Regions from separate parts of the Homo sapiens genome. Here regions 1 and 2 are each linked to region 3. The links are contacts of gene promoters, found by promoter capture Hi-C in blood cells and fetal thymus (Javierre and others, 2016). All regions are on one chromosome and are shown on one strand. Each heading gives the region's core, a stretch centred on a gene start or on the middle of the fragment in contact. The rest is flanking DNA. Distances are from core to core; before and after follow the strand shown.

Evidence for each region. Contacts are between HindIII fragments. The CHiCAGO score rates a contact against its expected background, and 5 or more counts as called.
Region 1: a fragment that was not itself captured here is called in contact with the fragment with the promoter of CPN1 in region 3 in 9 of 17 cell types (total B cells, M0 macrophages, erythroblasts and 6 more); the score reaches 7.2 in total B cells.
Region 2: a fragment that was not itself captured here is called in contact with the fragment with the promoter of CPN1 in region 3 in 2 of 17 cell types (endothelial precursors and M1 macrophages); the score reaches 8.3 in endothelial precursors.

The regions. Positions count from the first base shown.
Region 1 is chr10:99,833,042-99,837,267 of GRCh38, forward strand. It overlaps ABCC2 (ATP binding cassette subfamily C member 2), which reads left to right. Exons shown (of 32, transcript NM_000392.5): 24 at 1,339-1,494; 25 at 3,050-3,249. Among named protein-coding and RNA genes, the nearest start is that of ABCC2, 53 kb to the left of the region's middle. RefSeq lists an enhancer at 926-2,125. The HindIII fragment of the contact is 2,011 bases long and covers 1,746-3,756 here.
Region 2 is chr10:99,855,990-99,859,989 of GRCh38, forward strand. No RefSeq gene overlaps it. Among named protein-coding and RNA genes, the nearest start is that of DNMBP-AS1, 69 kb to the right of the region's middle. The HindIII fragment of the contact is 2,513 bases long and covers 784-3,296 here.
Region 3 is chr10:100,079,317-100,083,630 of GRCh38, forward strand. CPN1 (carboxypeptidase N subunit 1) reads right to left here and starts at 2,553. Exons shown (of 9, transcript NM_001308.3): 1 at 2,087-2,553. The coding sequence starts at 2,309. The HindIII fragment of the contact is 7,883 bases long and covers 123-4,314 here.

The DNA.
Region 1 (4,226 bases), core at 1,501-4,000, 250 kb before region 3:
GCAGCTCTGGACTCTTGTTTGTTGGTCTTGGGGCAGACATAGAAAGTATAGCTCACAGTCCACAGCCAGGTTCTGGGGACACAGTAACTGCTTCAAAAGTGGGCCATTAACTGGTCCCCCTGTGTCATCTTCCTCTGGGGCAGAAACAGTGGGCATGATGTCACTAGAGACAACTTCAATGGCCTTTCTGCTCTTTACTAGAACCTAAAAGAACACTCAATTTTGGGTGAGAAATTTCTCATAGTAATTTTGTAAAGATCACAGTTTTCCCCATGTTGTAATATATATAATCTTCTGGGAAAGAGAACACAGAGGTTTTCTGTGAGTTACTTAGGCAACAGTCATAGTTTGAAGACTGCTTTTGCATGAGAAAGGAAACTGTCATTAATTATATAGTATGTTTCGTTGGGGAGGTGGCTCAGACCTATTAAGGGGAGTTTGATCAAGGGGCCTCTGGGATCAATGGCTGAGTTAAGAGGAGATGGAGTGGAGGAAGGAAAGATGGAGACTCTGTGCCAGGTAAGGATCAAAAGTAATCTGCATAGAACTGATAACTGGTAGGGATTTCTTTTCTCTGCCAACTGTGGGTATAGTTATTTGCATTCTGATAGGACTTTGGGAAAGGTAGGTTAGACTCAGGAGTCATCCATGATTCAGAGCTTTCCTGGAAGACCATTATCCCTGATACAGTTTGAGAAATTCCAGAGATAACTTAAACTCACTTTGGTACTCACATATTACCAATCATAGAATCAATATAATCCCCACAAATTTAGGCAAGGGCAACCCAAAATATAAACCAAGCTTCTTGAGTGTTCTCCAAACCATCCATCCATTCATTCATTTTTCTTATTTGTTCATTTATTTCACATGACACGAAGGCAACATGGCAGTAAGACACATCTGTTCCCGCTGGGTTCCTTGGTTAGAACACTGTCCAGGCAGGCTCACATTCAACCCCAGCTCCCTTCCCCTTGGTCCTCTATGCTTAGCAGAGGAAGCAACTTCCTGAGTATTTTTAGTAGAGATGGGATTTCACCATGTTGGTCAGGCTGGTCTTGAACTCCCGATCTCAGGTGATCCACCCGCCTCGGCCTTGCAAAGTGCTGGGATTACAGGTGTGACCACCACGCCAGGCCTAAATGAAGAAATTATGGAAATGAAATTGGTTATTGGGGCAAGCAATGCAGCCTATTGCAAATGAACACAATGAAATGATTACATGAAGGAGTACTGGGAACACACAGAATCCAACAGATTCCTTGCTAGAACTAGGAAGATGTAAACTATCTTAGGAAGACCTCAGTGATGGTGTATCTCTCCTAATCGTTTTCCTAGGATATTTCCACAGTGGATGACACCCTGCCTCAGTCCTTGCGCAGCTGGATTACATGCTTCCTGGGGATAATCAGCACCCTTGTCATGATCTGCATGGCCACTCCTGTCTTCACCATCATCGTCATTCCTCTTGGCATTATTTATGTATCTGTTCAGGTAGGTTTGGAAATGGCTAAGTCATCCTTCCTTCCTCTCTATCTATAAAAGCCCAGCCTCTTTCCTGAGAATCTTCTCTCTGATTCATTGCTAGTCACTCACTCCTCCCCTCAGCAGCTTTGCCATTTAGTCATATGTTGACATACCCAGGAGCCCACAGGCCACTGTCTGAAGCTGAAGTGAGAGCATCAATGGGTGCACCATTTATGGCAAATGTCACCCTAACTGCTGCCCACCCTTCACTCCCTGGAAGCTTAGGTCGGACAGATTTACGTTTGGATCCAAGACTACTTTGAGATTGGCTCTGGACACAGTCTTGCAGCTCCATAAGAACCCCCATGACGATTAGGTCGGTTCCAGAAGAGCCATGCTATGGTGCTTCCTTGGTTGACTTTGGACAGGCATAGCTGCTTGGAGATGTCTCTCAGCAGCAGCTGGGTCTTTCTTTTTACTTCGGCAAAGTTCTAGTTTCACTGGGGTGTCTGTGGGTGGTTTAGGCTCAATTCCAGTGTATTCTTCGAGGGAATGTGCAGCTTGAAAGCAAAACAGGGAAACTGGAACGAGTGGAAGGAACCCTATTCCCACAATAAAATGGATGAGGGAAGGGGAGGCTGTGGAGGAACTCTGGTCCCACCAGCTGCTTTTGTGGTGAATTGTTTGCCTGGGGAAACAATTCTGAAGACACTGATCAGGGGCTCGTGGCCTTGTGGCCTGCGATTGGCGGCTCGCCCCCATGTCCGTGTACAGTTCCTCAGGCACATTGTCACCATAGCGGCCTTTTAACTATTAATAACAAGCCAACAAACAAGAAGCAGGGTTATTGGAGGGAACATCTGTATGTCCATGTATAACATTTTGCATCCCGTCTCTCCAACGCCCCACTCTTCCCAGGTTTCAACAAATCCTCACAGAATCTAGTAGCAGCACGGACCCATTCCACTCCCCCTTGCCCTCAGGCCACAGGGTTCTTCCCTGCATTGGATTCTACCCTGTTCCAGTTCTTACCCCCTCAGCACTCTGCATACCTCCAGAATTCTCTGTACCTTCACACACCACCGAGGCACAGTTTTGGTCACTTAATTGAACAGATTCTTCCCTTTTTACCCAAACCTAGGCATGCCTTTTTCTGGCCATTTCCTGCCCATCCCCACTTTACACACCCCACGGGCCCCACTGCCTTTACAAAATCCTTTTGGGGACCTTTTCTCTAATGAGTACAGAAACTGTCACATGGATGATAGCCGTAGATCTGGGGGATATGGGTTAGGCTGACGGAACTCCTTAGGAGGTTTGGAGACTCAAAGCTCTGAGGCTGCAGTGTGCTCTCCTCACGTTCACCCCACTCTGTTCCCCACCAACCCCAGTCTTCTCATTGGTCTCCTCCTCGGAGCCTCTCATCATTCTGCTCCCAGACATGGCACTGCAGGCTTTTGTCTTGTTCAGACGTAAGCTGTGCCCATCAAGGGGAAGAATGCTGGGTTGTGGCCAGAAAGGAGGAAGATGGTGGATGCCTCATGACTGCGGGACTGGCTGATTCTTTACTTTTTGTGTCCAGATGTTTTATGTGTCTACCTCCCGCCAGCTGAGGCGTCTGGACTCTGTCACCAGGTCCCCAATCTACTCTCACTTCAGCGAGACCGTATCAGGTTTGCCAGTTATCCGTGCCTTTGAGCACCAGCAGCGATTTCTGAAACACAATGAGGTGAGGATTGACACCAACCAGAAATGTGTCTTTTCCTGGATCACCTCCAACAGGTGAGGCTTCCCCTGGGTATTTACCCATGTGTGTACTTTGGGGTTCTATATGTTTGATATTAGCGGTGGGAGGGCAGGCATGGCTAGTGGTGTGAAATTCACTCTGGCCACACACACTGTCATGCTATGTAAGTGGAGAGAAGAAAGCATGAGCTTTGGAGTCAGAGACTGGGTCCCCATGACAGCTCTGCCGTTTACCAAGCTGGGTGAATTGCCTTGACTTCTCTAAGGAGAATCTCCATTTCTTTGTTTTTGTAATGGCCAGAACACACCCTATCTCACAGGGTTCCACCTGTCTCATGGTGGAAGTCAAATGACATTTGTGAGCATTTTGTAACCCAGTACCAAATAAGTGCTGGGTGAACTGAACATCCTCTGTTTACTTTTCTGAGAACGGATGTGAGATTCTCCATAGTCATGACACTCTTTCTGGGTAGTGAAGGCAGTGGAGGTTGGAGAGAGGAGAGTTGGGAATTTTTAGGTAAGACCATTGATGACAGAAAGGGAAGCTTCCGTCTTGTGAACAGGGTGAGCATTATTCTCCAGTATCCTTAAGCCCTGGCAAGCAGTATGTCCTGGAAAGAGGAAGATCTTTTTCAGGAAGAAAAATTCTTGAGTGGCTTCCAAAGTGTCTTGAGGCGCTAAAGATGCTCAGCATTATTTGGAATGTGGACAGGTCAGGAGTTTGATTGTAAAGATATTTTATTTCTTAGAGACTTTCTAAGAAGGAAAAGGCATATAAGTAAATCTTATTAGACCTTCACTGTAAAGGACATATCATATTTATTCATACACATGCTGGAATTATTGGTGCAGACATTTAAATACATTTTCTTTGAGAAAGTCCTTTTTTTTTTTTTTTTTGATGGAGTTTCCCTCTTGTTGCCCAGGCTGGAGTGCAATGGTGCAATCTCAGCTCACAACAACCTCTGCCTCCTGGGTTCAAGCAATTCTCCTGCCTCAGCCTCCCAAGTAGC
Region 2 (4,000 bases), core at 790-3,289, 220 kb before region 3:
GTAAAAGATTGTAAAAATGCATAAAACAATTGGCTGTAAAAAGCACTCCATTGTCATAGCCCTCCTTTTAATTTCATATGCAAGTAGTTAGTTATGCTGTAGAATTTAACTGTTACAATATAAAAAGCAACTATTTATGGAAAAAGTAGAAAAAAGGAGAAAATGGCCAGGTGCAGTGGCTCACACCTGTAATCCCAACACTTTGGGAGGCTAGGCAGGAGGATCATTTGAGCTCAGGAGTTCAAGACCAGACTGGGAATATATGTATGGCAGTGTTTCTTTAAGGTAAATGAACATAAAAATAGAGTTTCAGGAAGAGAAGAAAAACTAGGCTAGTTTGGTTCTTACTGAATTTTGAAAATGAACTACAATAGAGCTCCTTCTTCAATTCTAACAATCAAGGCCTTGGTCACCATATTGGTAATCTCTTGATTAATCCTCTTGATTCTCACTTGATTTCCATCTGGCGATTATGCCTGACAAACACTATCACGGATTTCGGATCCATCTGCCCTGTTCCTTGGCAGCCATCTTTGGGACAATTACTTGCTGCTCAAGCCTGGAGACCAGGGTTGTCCAATCTTTTGGCCTCCCTGGGCCACACTGGAAGAAGAATTGTCTTGGGCCACATATAAAATACACTAACACTAATGATAGCTGATAAGCTAAAAAAAAAAAAATCGCAAAAAAAATCTGATTATGTTTTAAGAAAGTTTACAAATTTGTGGTGGGCCACATTGAAAGCCATGGGCCACATGCGGCCCACAGGCCATGGGCTGGACAAGCTTGCTATAGACACTCGTTCTTCTCTGGGAAACAACTTGGTTGTCAGAAGATTGTGGATAGCACTGGTTGTACTATTAGCTCTGGTCACAGGTATTGCTCTTGATACCTGGTGCTAAACAATAGCTTTGCCTGGCTGCTTCTTTTTTAGTGCTCATCTGCGGACACCTGTGGTCTGGTTTGTCAGGGTTTGCATTCTGGTAATATAAAGGTAGCTTCTGGTATAATAAATATTTGCCTGGTTGACACAATTATTAGGTCCAATCTGTAAACCAATTACTCTTTGGCCAGCTTTTCATTGTCCTTAATCCAACAGTCTAATTTCTCTGCAAACTTGACTCCAATGTTAATGGTTGAACAGAATTCTTTTATTTTAGTTGGACCTAGAGTAGGGGTATGGCTCTAGGGCCAAATTTGCCCTGCTACCTGTTTTTGCACATAAAGTTTTACTGGAACACATCCATGCTCCTTTGTTTCTTTGCCATCTGTGCCTGCTTTCATGTTACAATACAGAGTTGAGGAATTGGCCCACAAAGCCTAAAATATTTACTATCTGGCCCTTTAAGAACAGGTTTGCTGACCACTGCTCTAGAGCCACCAATGTAGCCTGGACTGGGTCACGATTCCATGCTCAAAAAGACTATTTGCTGGCCGGGCGCGGTGGCTGACGCCTGTAATCCCAGCACTTTGGGAGGCTGAGGTGGGCGGATCACCTGAGGTCAGGAGTTCAAGATCAGCCTGACCAACATGGAGAAACCCCGCCTCTACTAAAAATACAAAAAATTAGTCGGGCATGGTGGTGCATGCCTGTAACTCCAGCTACTCGGGAGGCTGAGGCAGGAGAATCACTTGAACCCGGGAGGCGGAGGTTGCCGTGAGCTGAGATTGTGCCATTGCGCTCCAGCCTGGGCAACAAGAGCAAAATCTGTCTCAAAAAAAAAACAAAACAAAACTATTTGCCTTTAAAATGTCATGTGGCTTCACACCTGTGATAGAATAATGGTCCTCAAAAATGTCCACATCCTAATCCTCAAAGCCTGTGAATATGCCACCTTCCCTGGAAAAAAGGACTTTCACTGATGTGATTAAGTTAAGGGTCTTCAGATGGGGAGAGCACCGTGGATTGGCCAGGTGGGCTCAATGTAAACACAGCGTTCTTATAAAAGAGGCAGGACAGTCGGAGTGAGAGCGTGCTGCGATGACGGACGGAGTGAGACAGTTGAAGGTGCCACGCTGCTGGCTTTGAAGATGGAGGGAGTGGCCGCAAGCCAGGATATGCAGACCTTAGGAATCGGAAAAGGTAAGGAAATGAATTCTCCCCTGGAGCATCCATGAGGAACCAGCCCTGCCAACACCTTGACTTTAGCCCGGTGAGACTAATTTTGAATTCTGACCTCCAGAATGCTGAGATAAATTTGTTTTCAGCCACTAAATTTGTGGTAACTTGTTCCAGCAATAGGAAACTAATAAAAGTAAGCCCAGGTAGCTGTGATAAAACTGCCACAGTTCTTCAGCTAAAGTCAGTTTAATGACAATTCATGGATCTTCTTCATTAAATCCCACTGTAGTTTGAGTATGTAGAGGGTCATGCTGCCTTTTAAGCCCAGCTAAAAGTTGGTTGCAATACTCGTGCCTGGCATCCCTTCTATCAAATTGCAAAAATCTTATTCAGTTTGAACAGAGTTGCGGGTATTTTCTTGGTCTCAACTGAAGGCTGTAGTGAGGGCTCTTGTCAAAGTGAGTCCTGTTTTTGACGACAGCAGATTGAGAATTTCTCACCCTCAGCTTTCCTAATTCTGGACCTCTGGGGTGGTTGCTGTGAGAAATGCTTGGTGAGATGCCGAGGTGTGGTGGTTCACAGGCATTGCTGTGTGCCGTGGTCCTGCTCCGTCTAAGGACCTGTCAGGGTGGCTGCAGGGTCTCACCCACCTGACTGCTCCCCAGAAATGTTTCCAGAATGAATACATTGCCGAGACTCTAACCAGAGGCTTGCTCCCTTCCACCACCACCCCACAGCCTATCGCTGGGAAGGCACTAATTCTGCCCCTCTCTGCTTGAGGGTCATCTCTTGAGTGTTAAGGCGTAGGTATCCCTATGTAGCTTGCAAAATCTGCAACTTGTGGAAAACTCCTTTCTTGACATATGTAAAATACTAATGCTGACCTGCACCAACAATTGCAGCAAAGTTCTAGCAGAGGCTGTGGGACATAAGCCAGGGGCTCAGACAGATCGGAGTCCACTGCCCCTGCTCTGAAGCACTGGGTGATCTGCTACACATGGCAAAGGTAAAACCGTGAAGACTTCAGCAGTATCATGTACCACCAGGCGGGAGAGTTTAATGCCCCGTGAGTTATGTGGCGACCAGAGAGGGGATTTAGCATGAAGTATTTAAAGCTGGAGGTTTCTCGGTCCTCAAGCATAAGGTTCTGCAAATGAAACACAGTTCAGAGCACAACTGTTAAGGCCCGTTTGTACTCCTGACCCTGAACTAACACCCTCATCAACAGAATCCAAGCTTCACAATTAACTAAAATGGGGTGACACAAAATTCAATCCTTATTGAAACTGAGCTCCTCTGGAGCTCACATTTCATGAAAGTTTGTGGACATCATCTCACTGGATTCTCACATCTCATTGGATCTGTTCCTGAGAGGAAGAGATATCTATACACAATAATCAGAGGGGAGGCCCCATATCTATGTTTACACGATAGGTTCCCACCATCAGTCCCTGTCGTGGGACTCGTGGATGAAAGCACAACTGAAGAGCTATTTCCAGACAGAAGGGGAGAAAAATCAGGAGGTAAGCCAGCAAGCTGGATTTAAGAATTTTCTTTGACATTTCCTTCTAGAGTGTCTGAAACATCTGACACCCTCTCCTTCCTTGGTTTTTGTAAATTCTGCTTTTCTGACAGCAAAAAGTCCTACTTTAAAAAGTTGTCTAAACAGGTGCTTCTCAAACTTTAATGTGCACACAAGTCACCTGAGGATCTTGTTAAAATAGACTTTGATTCAGTAATGCTGTGGAGGTGGGCCCCTTGCAGTTCCAGCGAGCTCACAGGTGGTGGCGATGGCAATGCTGCCGGCCTAGAGACCACTTTTTTTTTTTTTTAAGAGGTGGGTTCGGGTAGGGCTGGGCACGGTGGCTCACACCTATAATCCCAGCACTTTGGGAGGCCAAGGCAGGCAGATCACCTGAGGTCAGGAGTTAGAGACCA
Region 3 (4,314 bases), core at 1,303-3,802:
GCATATTGTAGGTGATTGGTAAATATTTGTGGAATGAATGAATTAAAGGAATGAATGGGTGAATAGCAGTTATAGTGCTTCAGAGAAAAGAGGGAACAGTGAGGGCTAGAGTCCTGTGAAAAAGCTTCAAAGAAGGCCTTGAAAGCTAGAAAGTACAGGAGCACCAACAAGGGGGCTTGGAGTGTTGGGGGGCTAACCCCATGATGTCCATGAACACTCACGAGCTTCCACAGTGAACATATGATCTGATTGACAGCAGGCTGCTTGCTATGGAAGTGCAGTTTCAAAGCGAGGCAATTATCCCAGGTAACCCCATGGCCTTCTATGAGCCTCCTCCATGCAATATTCTGAATCCCATGGCCAGTCCATTGAGTGTGAGGCTTTTAAAGTAGGAAAGTGGGATTATGTCAAGATTTAGGAAAATTTTTCTGGCATCTGTGTACCAAATGGAAGATTCAGAGTGCAGCAGTTCGAAGTTAGAGACCTGGCTGGGCACGGTGGCTCACGCCTGTAATCCCAACACTTTGGGAGGCCAAGGCGGGTGGATCACTTGAGGTCAGGAGTTTGAGACCAGCCTGGCCAACACGGTGAAACCCCGTCTCTACTAAAAATAAAAAAAATTAGCCAGGCATGGTAGTGCACGCCTGTAATCCCAGCTACTTGGGAGGCTGAGGCAGGAGAATTGCTTGAACCCGGGAGGTGGAGGTTTCAGTGAGCTGAGATTGCACCACTGCATTCCAGCCTGGGCAACAGAGTGAGACTCCATCTCAAAAAAAAAAAAAAATGAAGTTAGAAACCAGTTGGGAGTTCAGTGCAATCATGTAGGCAGCTTGTGATGGAGTCTGGACTTGGGCAGGGGATGTGGAAGCGAAGAGGTAAAGGGAGATTTGAAGTTGAGTTTGAAGGAGGAACTGGTAAGGAAAGAAGTGAGAAATTAGAAACAACTTAAATGTCCATCAATATATGGACAGTTAAACATAGTCATGCAATGAGCTATTACACAGCCAAAACCACAGTGATGTAGATCTGCACTTATAGACATGGATGCTATCCATAACAGATTGTGAAATGAGAAGGGCAGTTATAATACAATTTCATTTTTATAGAAACAATTACATGTGTTTGAGTCAGGGTTTAAATATGCATAGAAAAAAGTCTGGAAGGATATACATCAATACATTAACAGTGGTGGGATTTGGGGTGAGTTTTATTATTTTTTTTCCTTATCTAATCTCTAAATTTTAATCCAAACATGGATTGCTTTTACAGTAGAAACAAACTAAAAAAAGGAATCCAGGCTAAGTGCGGTGGCTCACGCCTGTAATCCCAACACTGGGAGGCCAAGGTGGGTGGATCGCCTGAGCCCAGGAGTTTGAGATTAGCCTGGTTAACATGATGAAACCCTGTCTCTACTAAAAATACAAAAATTAGCCGGGCGTATTGGTGCATGCCTGTGGTCCCAGCTACCTAGGAGGCTGAGGGGAAAGGATCACCTGAGCCCAGGAGGTGGAGGCTGCAGTGAGCTGAGATCATGCCACTGCATTCCAGCCTGGGCAACAGAGCCAGACCCCGTCTCAAAAAAATAAAAAATAAAAAAGAATCCAGTAAATAAAACTGACACCCAAGTCCCCAAACTCTCTCTGGAATACCACACTGTCACTCCCCGAAGAGATTCCCCTATACCCTTCTAAGTTTCCTGGCAGAACTAGAAGGGCTCATTGTTTTTGCCTATGTCTCCTGAGCCATTGGGTGGGGAAAGACAGAACAATAGTAAGGGGAAAAGAAAGGAAATGGGGGAAATGAAGGGATATGGGACATGAGCAGGGAAGAAGACTCATCTTTTACCATTAAAGTTTTGAGCAAACAGAACCCAAAAAGGAGGAAAGATCTGAAGGCTGAAGGAGGGTTATAGCTCCCCAGAGGCAGTGGCAGTTTGAGGGCTAAGAGGGAAATAGCACAGGCTGAGAAAGAGATAATACCTTGTAGGCGGAGGCGTCCACGGACCACCCCAGAAACCACTCCAATTACTGGATTTGCAAGGGAAAGGCCCTGCCCCACACACCCTCAAGAGCTGTTCAGAACTTACAGGGCTCGTGGATTCCAGGGTGGTCGCTGAACTCCAGCACGTAGAGGTGTCTCCCCTCCACGCTGCGCCCAATGCTGTAGACCCGCGTGATGCCGGGGCATTCGTTTTGCACCTTGTACAGCGTCCGCACAAGATCATCATAGCGGTGGTGGCGAAAGGTCACCGGGGCAACCAACTTGAAGAGAAGGAGGAGGTGGAGGAAGACTGAGAGCAGGTCTGACATCTTGCTGGGCTTTTTCAAAGAGAGCCACTGAAACGCGCCCCACCTCCTTAAACAACCTAGCCTCTTCACCCGCCAAAATCCAAGGTCCACCTAGCTTCCCGCTTGTAAACACCAGTCCAAATTGGAAGACGTTCCCAGCTGTCCGTCCAAGGCTGGAAATTCTTTATGTCGTTCTGGAATAGCCACTCATCTCTCCTCCCTCACTCCCTTTCTTTCTCTAATCCAGGAAAGCCTTTTGAAAGGTTTTTTGCACTTCCCCAGATGGGTAGTTTCACTGATTCTGGTTTACTGGTTAACTGGACTGTAAACAGGCTTCAATAAATAGCTGCTTATAACCCTTTGATTCCTGGAGAATTTTTTAAAACTTGGCCTGTGCCTGTTCCTTTTATTACAACTTTCAAAAAGAGTTCTCTGTCCCTTTTGATCCATCCCACGTACTGCTGCCTGCCTATCTTTCTGAAGCATGGCTGTATTTTGTCCTTTTTTTCCTCAAAAATCTTTCAACAGATGCCATTAAGAAAAGGAAAAGATTAGCCTCGGACTGGGAGAAAACAATTGTAAATCATGTATCCGATAATACCCCCATAATACGTAAAGAATCCTTACAATACAATAAGAAAACAAACAACCCAATTAAAACATGGGCAAAACATTTGACCAAAATAGATATACAAATGGCTAATAAGCACATTTAAAGATGTTCAGTGTCATTAGTCATTAAGGAAATACAAATTAAAACCACATGAGATCCAGTCATGGTGGCTCATGCCTATAATCTCAGCACTTTGGGAGGCCAAATTGGGAGGATCACTTGAGCCCAGGAGTTTGAGATCAGCCTGGGCAACATAGCAAGACCCCACCTCTACAAATATTTTTAAAATTAGCTGGGTGTGATGGCATGCCTGTAGTTCCAGCTACTAGGGAGGCTGAGGCAGAGAATCACTTGAACCTGGGTGGTGGGGCCTGAAGTGAGCCATGATCATGCCACTACACTCCAGCCTGGGCAACAGAGTGAGACCTCATCTCAAAAAACAAACAAACAAAAATCACACATGAAATATACTTTACCTCCACTAGAATGGCTACAATAAAAAAGACAGACAATAACAAATGTTGGTGAGAATAGGGAGAAACTGGAACCCTCATAAATAGTGCAGCCAGACCAGGTGCAGTGGCTCATGCCTGTAGCCCAGGACTTTGAGAGGCCGAGGCAGGTGGATCACGAGGTCAAGAGATCGAGATCATCCTGGCAAACATGGCAAAACCCCCTCTCTACTAAAAATACAAAAATTAGCTGGGCATGGTGGCACACGCCTGTAGTCCCAGCTACTCAGGAGTCTGAGGCAGGAGAATTGCTTGAACCTGAGAGGAGGAGGTTGCAGTGAGCTGAGATCACGCCACTGCACTCCAGCTTGGTGACAGAGCGAGACTCCATCTCAAAAAAAATAAAAAATAAAGATAAACAAATAAATAGTACAGCCAGTTTGGAAAACAGTTTAGCAGTTTCTTACAAGGTTAAATATATACTTACTATATAATACAACAGTTTCACTCCTAGGTACCTATGCAAGAGAAATGAAAACACACATCCACACAAAAACTTGTACATAAATGTCCATAGCAGTATTGTTCACAAGAGACAAAAAGTGGAAACAACCCAAATGTCCATTAACCACTGAGCGGATAAACAAAATATGGCATATCCATACAATGAAATAGTATTTGACAATAAAAAGGAGTGGAGTGCTAATATATTGTACAATGTGAATGAATCTTACACATGCCTGGTAAAAGAAGCCAGACCCAAAACACCACAAGTGGACACAAAATTTCTTTTTAGAGTGATAGAAATGTTCTAAAATTAGATTGTGGTGATGGTGATGTCTATACAACTCGATAAATATACTAAAATTCATTGAATTGCATACTTAAAACAGATGAATTCTATGATATGCAAATTGTATCTCAATAAAGCTGTTTTTAAAAGGGAATAAAAAATAAGTAC